Regions from separate parts of the Homo sapiens genome. Here all the other regions are linked to region 4. The links are contacts of gene promoters, found by promoter capture Hi-C in human tissues and cell types (Jung and others, 2019). All regions are on one chromosome and are shown on one strand. The core of a region is centred on a gene start or on the middle of the fragment in contact, and the rest is flanking DNA. Distances in the headings are between cores, read along the strand shown. Region 1 overlaps FAM149A (family with sequence similarity 149 member A). Region 2 has its middle 26 kb from the start of TLR3. Region 3 has its middle 44 kb from the start of TLR3. Region 4 holds the start of CCDC110 (coiled-coil domain containing 110).

Region 1 (2,700 bases), core at 182-2,681, 660 kb before region 4:
AAAGAATAATCTAAAAACTGTTTTACAAAAATTCTGATAATTAAACAGTCTTTCAACATAAAAATAACTATCCAAACATATTCTATGAAGAGTTCAATTGGGCAAACTGCAACATCAATAAGGCCAAATTTTCCTAAAATGTGTTTTTCAATGTTTGATTTACTCTTTTAAACAGCACAGCAGAAAACAAAGACTTCGTAGTAATTGCTAGACCACTGTTGTACATTAGATTTTATGTAACTGAAATATTAAGATGCAATTGATCCTTATTATTCTCTGGTTCACCCTCTGCAAATTCACCTACTTGCTAAAATACATCTGTAAGCCCCAACTCCACACGCGTGGTGCCTCCATGCCCCTCCGCACATGTGCAGAACAATGACACACCTGAGTCCCTTCAACTGCGTGCTCCCCGCTGCGGTCACACAAGGCGACCCTGCCTTGTTTCAGCTCTCACGCTGTCAACAAGTGTGCACTTTTGTGGGTCTATTCAGTGCTGTCACAGGTCTTCCAAATTGTTGTGCTTGTTGTGGGTGATCTGGCTGTGTAAAGTGGTCTTGGAGTGCTGTGCTAAAGCTGCCGAGTGTTCCTAAGCGCCAGAAGGCTGTGGTGTGCCTTGAGAAGGAAATACGTATGTTGATCAGCTTTCAGGCACGAGGTATAGACAGCGCTGTCGGTGAGTTCAATGTTAGCAAGTCGCTACTATATATTAAATGAGGTGTCTTTCAACACGAACACACATTAGACAAGCTCAGGTATCGATCAGTTGACAAAAATGTTGAGACTGGAGACTCACAGGACGCGAACCCTGTATTTCCTCTGCAGCTATGGTTCAGTATTCACTACATCATGGTTTCCGGTGACTTCACAGACCATGACTACCAGGGATAATGAGAACTGATTATTACCTCTACCACCACTCATATGTATATGACATTACAACACAATGTCTTCATAAATCTCTTACTAAATTTCAAGACATACAGATGGAATTTCAGAACACTAGAATTGGGAGATTGCATGCATTTTATGTTTAATACACAATCTAAAGTAAAAAACGTGAGAGTAGAGGCAAAGGGGTGGTGCCCGCTGTCTTATGTCTGCACTGCAGTTTGTCAGGTCAGAATTGAATTCAGTGGTTCTCAAATTGTAACATGCAGCAGGATCACCAGAGAGCTCGTAAAAACCCAGGTTGCTGGGCCCCACCCCGGTCTCTGGTGCAGCAAGTCTGCAGTGCGAATGTGGATTTCTCAGGATCCCACGTGCTGCTGGTACTGCGGCCCAGGATGGCACTTCGAGAGCCACCGCCCTGATTCATCTGTTATACATTCTGTCCTCCCAACGCATTCCCACCTAAAAAACTGCTTGAGCCCAGGAACTGCGTCATATTGAATTGTGTCACCCTAGCCTCAGCACACCTTTAATCAATGTTTGAAGGAGTAGAGGAACTAATGAAAGCCTTCGTATTCCAGAGAAGAAAAAGCGAGGTCTCAGAAGGGCAGGCCTGCTGCTGCTTGGTGAAGGCCAGGGACCAGAATCCAGATTCCTGCAAACCTGCAGCACACGAGGCTGCTAGGCTTTCCCTCAACAGCTTTAATTGTAAGTAAATCCTATTCCATCTTTGGGTGGGAACACCAGCAGAACACCCTTTCTAAATGTAAAACAACAAAACTGTCAGATTCTAGGGCAATGCAGGATACCCAGGGAAAACCTAGGTCTGACTAACGAAGACATTTGGGAGAGCACAGAGGTTCCTCTTTACTTGGTGATCCAGGGCTCTCAGCTGACCAAAGCTGAAAGGAGAACTCAGGCTGCCAGACACTCTCAGGATGACTGTGTTCTCGCTGTCTTTCTCATGCACCTAAAAAAGCAAAAGGCTCTTCCTGTCCTTGCTGCGGCACCTAGTACAGAGTCAGCCATGAACATGCTTCACATGCAGCTTTCTTCCTATTTCAGACCCAGGAAAATACCAGTCTAAAATGTTGCAAAAGAAGAAAATAAAGATCATAATTGCTCAGGTTTAATCTCTGAGGCTGGGATGTGTCTATCTTCAACAGCATCGCACGATGCTGTCTGGAAGCCCTTGCCAAAAAATGTAAAAAAGATCAGTCCTCCATTTTAAACTCATTAGAGTGGCTGTTTAAAAAGAGATAAAGAAAGTAAGTTTTGGTGAAGATGTAGAGGAATGGGAATCCTCGTGCATCACCGGTGGAAACGTAAAATGGTGCAGCTAGTATAAAAAAATCGTTTGTGATTCCTCAAAAGTGAAACACAAAATTACCATAGGATCCAGCAATCCCACTTCTTGGTATACACTGAAAGAATTAAAAGCAGGGACACAGGCCAGGTGCAGTGGCTCATACCTGTAATCCCAACACTTTGGGAGGCTGAGGTGGGCTGATCACTTGAGCCAGGAGTTCGAGACCACCTTGGGCAATACAGGGAGATCCTGTCTCTACAGAAAATTTAAAAAGTAGGTAGGTGTGGTGGCACATGCCTGTCCTCCCTGGTACTCTGGGAGGCTGAGGCAGGAGGATCACCTGAGCCCAGGAGGTCAGGGTTGCAGTGAGCTATGATCACGCCACTGTACTCCAGCCTGAGTGACAGAGCAGGACCCCATCTCTAAAAAATGTTCATAGCAGCATTGTTCACACAGCTGAAGAGGGAAGCAACCCAAATGTCCATCAACAGAAGAATGGA
Region 2 (2,700 bases), core at 186-2,685, 570 kb before region 4:
TCCCAACACTTTACCACTATTTCGTTTTATTTTTCTTATTAATATAAGAAGACAGGAATGTCAGGCCTCTGAGCCCAAGCTAAGGCATCATATCCCCTGTGACCTGCACGTACACATCCAGATGGCCGGTTCCTGCCTTAACTGATGACATTCCACCACAAAAGAAGTGAAAATGGCCTGTTCCTGCCTTAACTGATGATATTGTCTTGTGAAATTCCTTCTCCTGGCTCATCCTGGCTCAAAAGCTCCCCTACTGAGCACCTTGTGACCCCCACTCCTACCTGTCAGAGAACAACCCCCCTTTTTCCTTTACCTACCCAAATCCTATAAAATGGCCCCACCCCTATCTCCCTTCGCTGACTCTCTTTTCGGACTCAGCCCGCCTGCACCCAGGTGAAATAAACAGCCTTGTTGCTCACACAAAGCCTGTTTGGTGGTCTCTTCACACGGACGCGCATGAAAGTGATCCACCTGCGTCAGCCTCCCAAAGTGCTGGGATTACAGGCGTGAGCCACTGCGCCCGGCCCCTTTTGCCATCTTTCCTATGAGTTTACCAAATGTGAAAGTGGTAAAGTAGTCTCTACCTCTGACATCACATGTGGCAGACATTCATATGCATATACACCCAAATATTCACAGTCAGCACACTGTGCATGATGCGGGATAAAGAACATAAATAATCATTGAATATTCTATCATCTGCATCCTTGAAAATCAGCATCTTGTGGAAGAAAGAAGATGCAGATGTACACGGAAGAGTTATTAAAATATGTTGTTCTGGACTTTGGCAATGTTAGTATGAATTCTGTGTGCATGTGTACGTTCATATATGTGTATTTCACAGGTGGGCGGAACCATCATGGTATGAATTCTGTGTGCATGTGTACGTTCATATATGTGTATTTCACAGGTGGGCGGAACCATCATGGTATGAATTCTGTGTGCATGTGTATGTTCATATATGTGTATTTCACAGGTGGGAGGTACCATCATGGTACGAATTCTGTGTGCATGTGTATGTTCATATATGTATATTTCACAGGTGGGAGGTACCATCATGGTACGAATTCTGTGTGCATGTGTATGTTCATGTATGTGTATTTCACAGGTGGGCGGTACCATCATGGTACGAATTCTGTGTGCATGTGTATGTTCATATATGTGTATTTCACAGGTGGGCGGTACCATCATGGTACGAATTCTGTGTGCATGTGTATTTTCATATATGTGTATTTCACAGGTGGGCGGTACCATCATGGTACGAATTCTGTGTGCATGTGTATGTTCATATATGTGTATTTCACAGGTGGGGGGTACCGTCATGGTATGAATTCTGTGTGCATGTGTATGTTCATATATGTGTATTTCACAGCTGGGAGGTACCATCATGGTACGAATTCTGTGTGCATGTGTATGTTCATATATGTATATTTCACAGGTGGGAGGTACCATCATGGTATCAATTCTGTGTGTATGTGTGTGTTCATATATGTGTATTTCACAGCTGGGAGGTACCATCATGGATCTGCGCAAGTGTTTATGGTTGTCAGTGAAACCTTGAAATAATAAACTGCTTCTCAGAATAAATGAGGTGATAAACTTCACGATTCCTTTTTAAAAATCTCACCTCTATTTTAAACTTCGAGTTTGGTCCTTCAAATTCTATTAATGACATTCTAAGTTACATATCCAATTACAAAGAAATTGACTTTCTTTCAGAACATTCACTGAGATTCTTTATATTCACCATTTTCCAACAGTTCAACCATATAGAAGAGCTGAAAAAATTGTACAGGGAACACCCACATACCATTCCTTAGCTTCCACAATTAACGTTTATCGCTTCTCGGCCGTTTGGCTAAGATTAAGTGCACAATTAACGTTTTACTGTATTTGCTTTACCACATAATCATCCATCTATCCATCCCTCTCTTAATCCGTCTTGTTGTTTGATGCATTTGAAAGTAAATTTCAGACATCTATATACTTCACTCCTAGTCTTCCCAAGGCACATCGTTAAGTAGAGTTGGATATTTGTTTAAAGTGTTTTTTAGATAATATTTACATGCAATGAAAATGCATAAATCTTAAGTTTTCACTTGATCAATGTGGATAAATGAACACATCATTAAAATATAGAACGCAGCCTGGGCAACATGGCAAAACCCTGTCTCTACAAAAAAATGCAAAAATTAGCTGGGTGTGGTTGTGCATGCTTGTGGTCCTAGCTACTTGGGAGACTGAGGCAGAAGGATCACTTGACCCAGGAGGTTGAGGCTGCAGTGAACTGTGACCACACCACTGCATTCCAGCATGGACAACAGAGTGAGACCCTGTCTCCAAAAAAAAAAAAAAAAAGAAGAGATAGAAACGTTATTGCTTTGGTCCAGGAAGTTCTCTAGCTCATTCCCTGCCAGTATTCCCCAGACACCTTCTCCCAGAAGCATCTGCTGTTCTGATATCTTTTTTACCACAGGTAAGTTTTTGCCTATTTCTGGAATTTCCAATAGATAGAATAATATATTACGTGGCTTCTTTCACTCAGTATAATGGTATTTGTTTGTTTGTTTGTTTGTTTTTTCTTAGACAGAGTCTCCCCCTGTCACCCAGGCTGGAGTGCAGTGGTGTGATCTCAGCTCACTGCAACCTCTGCCTCCTGGGTTCAAGCAATTCTCCTGCCTCAGCCTCCCAAGTAGCTGG
Region 3 (2,700 bases), core at 76-2,575, 550 kb before region 4:
AATGAGGTTTATCCAAGGCATGATTATTGCTAATTGAAAATGAGCAGCGCAAGGCAGTGGACCTTGTGAGGAGTTGAGATATTTTCACACACCTGGTGACAGAAGCACTAGATTCTTCTAGACACCTCCGCCAAAGCACTTTGCCTGTTCTCTGGGCTTGTAGGGGCTGAGAGGAAGGTGGTGATAGTGAGCTTTCCACAAAGTGGTGTCACTTTGCCCAGCAGCTATTCCTCCTGCTTGCAAAGCTTCCCAGCTCCCTTCCCCATGGTAACCGCCTTCGCTTTGCATCCATCACAGGATCTTGCACCTGAGTATTTTCCAGGTCTTCCCCCAAGGACAAACAGCGCTTTTGCTTCTTCCCCTCCCCTGAAGCAGTATCTGTGTCAGGGACAGTAGCTGGATTGTCCTTCCCTGTCCAGATCTTCCTCAGGAGCACACAGTGGAGATGGTGGAAAGAGCTAACACTAGGTGAATGCAGGTTCTCCTTGTGTCTCAGGCCCACCGGGGCTTTCTCAACCATCTAGCACACAAGCTCACACTCAGACTTTAAGAATTTGCTACATTCTGGCTGGGTTTTTTGTTTTGTTTTTGTTTGTTTTGTTTCGTTTTGCTTTTTTTGTTTTTGAGACGGACTCTCACTCTGTCGCCCCCCGGACTGAAGTGCAGCGGCGTGATCTCGGCTCATGCAACCTCCGCCTCCCGGGTTCAAGCGATTCTCCTGCCTCAGCCTCCCGAGTAGCTGGGATTACAGGCGCCTGTCACTATGCCTAGCTAATTTTTGTATTTTTAGTAGAGATGGGGTTTCACCATGTTGGCCAGGCTGGTCTCGAACTCCTGACCTTGTGATTCGCCTGCCTCGGCCTCCCAAAGTGCTGGGATTACAGGCGTTAGCCACCGCACCCGGCCCATCCTGGCTGTTTTCTTCCAACCTGCTTTTACGGCTGCTCCATCCACCCTCCTCTCACACTCTGCCAAGGGTGAAACCATCTGTGCGGCCCGATTCTCCCCGAGGGACCTGTCACTCCTCAGAACTGACTTCACTTGCTTGCCTTGCAACCTCAGCTTTCTGAAGTGCTCAAGAAAAGTTGGCACTGTGAAGATCACATGGCTTTTCCTCCTTGCTAAGGTGGGAGTGACATCTTTGTAAAGCCATCTACATATGAAGTGAAAACAGGATTCCCTGTTTCTGTTTCAAGATCCCACATGGGTGGTCTGAAGTTTAGTTCCCTCCCAGCAAGGGATCAACAGCATCCATGCTGCCAAAAGCTTCAGAAATGAACTCTGTGTTAACTCCGCGCATCTTTGAAGGGCCTACTATTTGCACATCACTCTACGAAGAGCTGAGATACTGAGATGAATGAGGCACAATCCTTGTCTTACCCTCGCTCACAATCCTGGGGGAGGCAAGGCACAGAAACGAGCGTCATAGAGTCATGAGTGCCGCCCCGAGAGTGGGAGAAACACGGTGGGAACGTGCATCTGAATAAGTAGCAGGCAGGGGCATGAGGAGGCAGAGTTATTTGAGTTGCTTCTTGAATTTTGTGTAAGTTTTCTATACTGAGACAGTAAAGAGGCATTCACAGAAAAGTGTTCCTTCTATTTCTCATTCTCTGATACACAGTTCCATTTCCTGGAAGAGTTTGCCTGGATCAGAACTCTCTAGATCCCATAGGCTGACCTGGTCTTAGCCACAGTGAACTCTGTGTCTGCGTCCTGCAGGTGAACCCAGCATTTCGCAAGGTCAGCGGGTTCTGCGGTGGCAGTATTAATAATAGAAACTTCGCTGCATTTGAATAAAATCAGTATTTTTTTCTTTAAAAAGCTTGATGCCAATATCTAATCTGCTTTCTTTCATATTTGTCCTCTCAATATTTATTTTTATTTTATTTTTTTTTTTTATTTTTTGTTTGTTTTGTTTTTTGGAGACAGGGTCTCACTCGGCCCTAGGCTGCAGCTGGAGTGCAGTGGCGTGATCTCGGCTCACTGCGACCTCTGCCTCCTGGGTTCAAGCAATTCTCCTGCCTCAGCCTCCCGAGTCGCTGAGATTACAGGTGCCTGCCACCATGATTAATTTTTGTATTTTTACTAGAGATAGGGTTTCACCATGTTGGCCAGGCTGCTCTCAAACTCCTGACCTCAAGTGATCTACCTGCGTCGGCCTCCCAAAGTGCTGGGATTACAGGCATGAGCCACCACGCCCCACCTGTCCTCTCAATATTTGTATTAACCTCTATATTTGTTGTCCCTGGAGGGGTGGATGTCTGGATATTAGTTTATTTGTTGGAACCACTGGGGTGTATTTCAGCACTGGTCTGGAAAGAATGGAGAGGCTTCACCGCTGCCAAAGCTCTCCTGGTTCGGCCTCACCTGGACGGTCGACTACATCGGTGCCGAGACAGGAACGGTGCAGCCCAAACAAGGACTCACTACAGTCAGACGCCCACGGGAACAGGGCTCATCAGCCAAAATCTAGTCGTTTTGTGAAAGGTGAGCCTGCGGCACGTTGAATGTAGAGAAGAGTTTTAGCAGAAGGTGTCAAGTCCCAGGCGTTGGAGTCTGGGGATCAGTCTGTGAACAAACCCAGGCTCAGAATCTGGTGAGAGGGGCAGAACAGGAGCAGGAGCCAGGACGGGAGCTGGGTGCCCAGCTGGGCCAGGGTGGGCAGAGTCCAGCCCCGCTGTCCCCTTCACCACCACTGGA
Region 4 (2,700 bases), core at 94-2,593:
ACTCACTGCAGCCTCTGCCTCCTGGGTTCAAGTGATTCTCCTGCCTCAGCCTCCCGAGTAGCTGGGATTACGAATGTACTCCACCATACCTGGCTAATTTTGGTATTTTTAGTAGAGACAAGGTTTCACCATGTTGGTCAGGCTGGTCTCGGACTCCTGACCTCAGGTGATCCACCCGCCTCGGCCTCCCAAAGTGCTGGGATTACAGGTGTGAGCCATCATGCCGGACCTAGAGCCCATTTCTTTTCTTTTTTTTTTTTTTGTTTGTTTTTTTTTGTTTTTTTGAGACGGAGTCTGGCTCTGTTGCCCAGGCTGGAGCACAGTGGCGCCATCTCGGCTCACTGCAACCTCCGCCTCCTGGGTTCAAGCGATTCTCCTGCCTCAGCCTCCTGAGTAGCTGAGATTACAGGCGCGTGCACTAGAGCCCATTTCTATAAGAAACAAATTAGAGGAAGTAAGCACTGAAACTATCATAAGAAGTTTCATTTCAATGAAAGCAAGCCATCATGTATTACTTATTATATATTATATGTTATTATATAGCAAATTATGATATCCTGGTGATTGTGATTTTGAATTTTAATTTTCTATGTGTGATGGTTTACTACAAAATAAATAATATATACTCGTTTAAAACTTTAAAGAGCACCATTTTCTGATGGGCAGGAGGATTAGCTGGGGGCACGCACCCAGTCCTTGGTTAAAGGAGGTCAGGTTTCCCGTGAACGCAACATCAATCCTGCACGTGATACACCAGGTGCGTAAAAATTAACATGCTTAGACAAAGGAAGCCCACCGTCGCTTCCCACAGCTTTCATGAGCATATTTTAATACATGTTTAGGTTAATTCATTATTGAAAAATAGGAGTCTTCTTTTCATTGCAGCAAACAAAAGTCCTTTCACAATATTGGTCATGGGCCGTTCAAATCCCCAAATGCTGAAACTCCTCTGAGGGATGCGCTGAAATGAGAGGACTAAGAATTAAAAAAAAAAAACAACAGCGATGAAGTGGAGATGTGGAAAGGCAAAGGGAAAGCTCTCAGGCGTGTGTCCGTCCCCGGGCGGTCCCTTTCTCCGCACCGCTTTGGTCCGGCGGGTACCGCAGCGAGTCCGAGTGTGAGCAAGCCCGTCCCGGACAGCCGCGCGCGTGTGCGGGGAGGCGCCCAGGTGGGCTGTCCCAGGCCAGGTTCCCAGGGAAGCTCTCGGGGAAGCGTCCGGAGTGAGGAGGGACCCACCGGGACCCCACCAGGGACCCCAGCCGAGCGCGCGCCGCCGAGGGTGGGGGTGGGGCCGGCGCCCCGGCCACCCGGTTACCTGGCGACAGGATGCCCTGCGCGGGGCGGCGGAGCGGGTGCGTGCGGCGGCGGTTGCGAGAGAGATGAGCCGCGGCGATGAGCCCGGGTAAGAGTTGGACGGGGCGGGGCTCCTAGGGGAGCCGCGGGAACGGAGGGCAGCAGAAGGGCATTCAGCAGGCGGCTCCCCGCTCGAAAACCCGGGACATCCCGGGTCCGCCCTTCTGCACTCGCCGCACATCTCCCGCTCGGCCCTAGGGCTGAGCACCCGCTGCGGCCCCCTGCGTCCGCTGTGGCTTACAGGCTGGCTACGTGGTCTGCCGCCGCCGCCCGCCCAGCGCGCCCTCGGGTGGCCGCTTGCGGAAAGCGCCGCGCCCCGCCCCAGGCCCGGCCTGATGCCGTCCCTCCGCCCCATCCCTCCGCCCCGCCCCAGCCTTCAGCCTTGACCCCGCCCCATTCCTCTGCCCCCACAGGTCCCGCCCAGTCTCTCCGCCCCATCCCATCCCTGCGCCCCGCCCCAGCCTTCAAACCCGCCCCCTCCTAATTCCCTCCGCCCCGCCCTCCCCGCCCTCCCCGCCCCCCCGCCCCAGCCTTCAGCCCCGCCCCCTCCTAATTCCCTCCGCCCCGCCCCAGCCGTTAGCCCTGCCCCGCCCCATCCCTCTGCCCCGCCCCCACCTTCAGCCCCGCCACGCCACGACCCGCGACAGAACAGCCCCGGACGGTTCTGTTACAGAAAAGCAGCACCGGGAAGAGGATGAAGTTGACTCCGTTCTCCTTTCAGCGTCCAAGATCCTAAATTCTTCGGAGGGGGTGAAGGAAAGTGGCTGCAGTGACACAGGTAAAATCGCCAGACCGTAAAAGGCTCCTTTAACTATACACAGGCGGCAGCATCTGGCCTGTGCCACCTGCTCACCTGGCGTGCTTCCCACGGCCGTGATGACACGGACAGCAGCCACCACGGCACTCGCGCTTTGTGCCAGTGCTGTTCTAAGCACGTAATGGATCAACTGTTTAATTCTCACAACACTTTTACGAGGTGGGTGCTACCACGATCCCCATTTTGCAGATAAGGAAACGGGCACAGAGAGGTTAACTCCCTAAGGTCACACAGGCAGCGAGGAATGGAGCGGGCATTCAGCAGGGCGGCTCCGGACTGCCTGTCTTCACCACCACGCTACGCTCCGTTGCTTCTCTGAATGCTAAGTAAGAATTGTTGAGTTTTTTGGACACACACTAAAACGATATGCAGTCAGCCCTCGGTATCTGGGAGTTCCGCATCCTTGGATTCAACCAACCACAGATGGAAAATATTCAGGGGGGAAAATTTTTAAAAATAACAGTACCACAATTTTTAAATGCAAATTTTGAACAGTATAACAGCCATTTACATAGCATTTACATTGTATA

Evidence for each region. The method cuts DNA at HindIII sites, captures the fragments that hold promoters and counts their contacts. A contact is called where the count stands out against the background at its distance.
Region 1: a contact is called between a fragment that was not itself captured here and the fragment with the promoter of CCDC110 in region 4, in 1 of the 25 tissues and cell types used here (heart left ventricle).
Region 2: a contact is called between a fragment that was not itself captured here and the fragment with the promoter of CCDC110 in region 4, in 2 of the 25 tissues and cell types used here (H1 embryonic stem cells and aorta).
Region 3: a fragment that was not itself captured here is called in contact with the fragment with the promoter of CCDC110 in region 4 in 1 of the 25 tissues and cell types used here (dorsolateral prefrontal cortex).

Annotation. Positions count from the first base shown.
Region 1 is chr4:186,133,597-186,136,296 of GRCh38, reverse strand. The region is part of intron 1 of FAM149A (family with sequence similarity 149 member A); the gene reads right to left. Among named protein-coding and RNA genes, the nearest start is that of FAM149A, 30 kb to the right of the region's middle. RefSeq lists an enhancer at 1,955-2,114. The HindIII fragment of the contact is 5,745 bases long and covers 1-2,700 here.
Region 2 is chr4:186,041,783-186,044,482 of GRCh38, reverse strand. No RefSeq gene overlaps it. Among named protein-coding and RNA genes, the nearest start is that of TLR3, 26 kb to the left of the region's middle. The HindIII fragment of the contact is 6,003 bases long and covers 1-2,700 here.
Region 3 is chr4:186,023,859-186,026,558 of GRCh38, reverse strand. It overlaps the pseudogene RNU4-64P. Among named protein-coding and RNA genes, the nearest start is that of TLR3, 44 kb to the left of the region's middle. The HindIII fragment of the contact is 3,937 bases long and covers 1-2,700 here.
Region 4 is chr4:185,470,376-185,473,075 of GRCh38, reverse strand. CCDC110 (coiled-coil domain containing 110) reads left to right here and starts at 1,343. Exons shown (of 7, transcript NM_152775.4): 1 at 1,343-1,402; 2 at 2,027-2,131. The coding sequence starts at 1,393. LOC105377590 (a long non-coding RNA gene) reads right to left here and starts at 1,645. Exons shown (of 2, transcript NR_133944.1): 1 at 1,316-1,645; 2 at 813-961. RefSeq lists a silencer at 1,129-1,758. The HindIII fragment of the contact is 7,773 bases long and covers 1-2,700 here.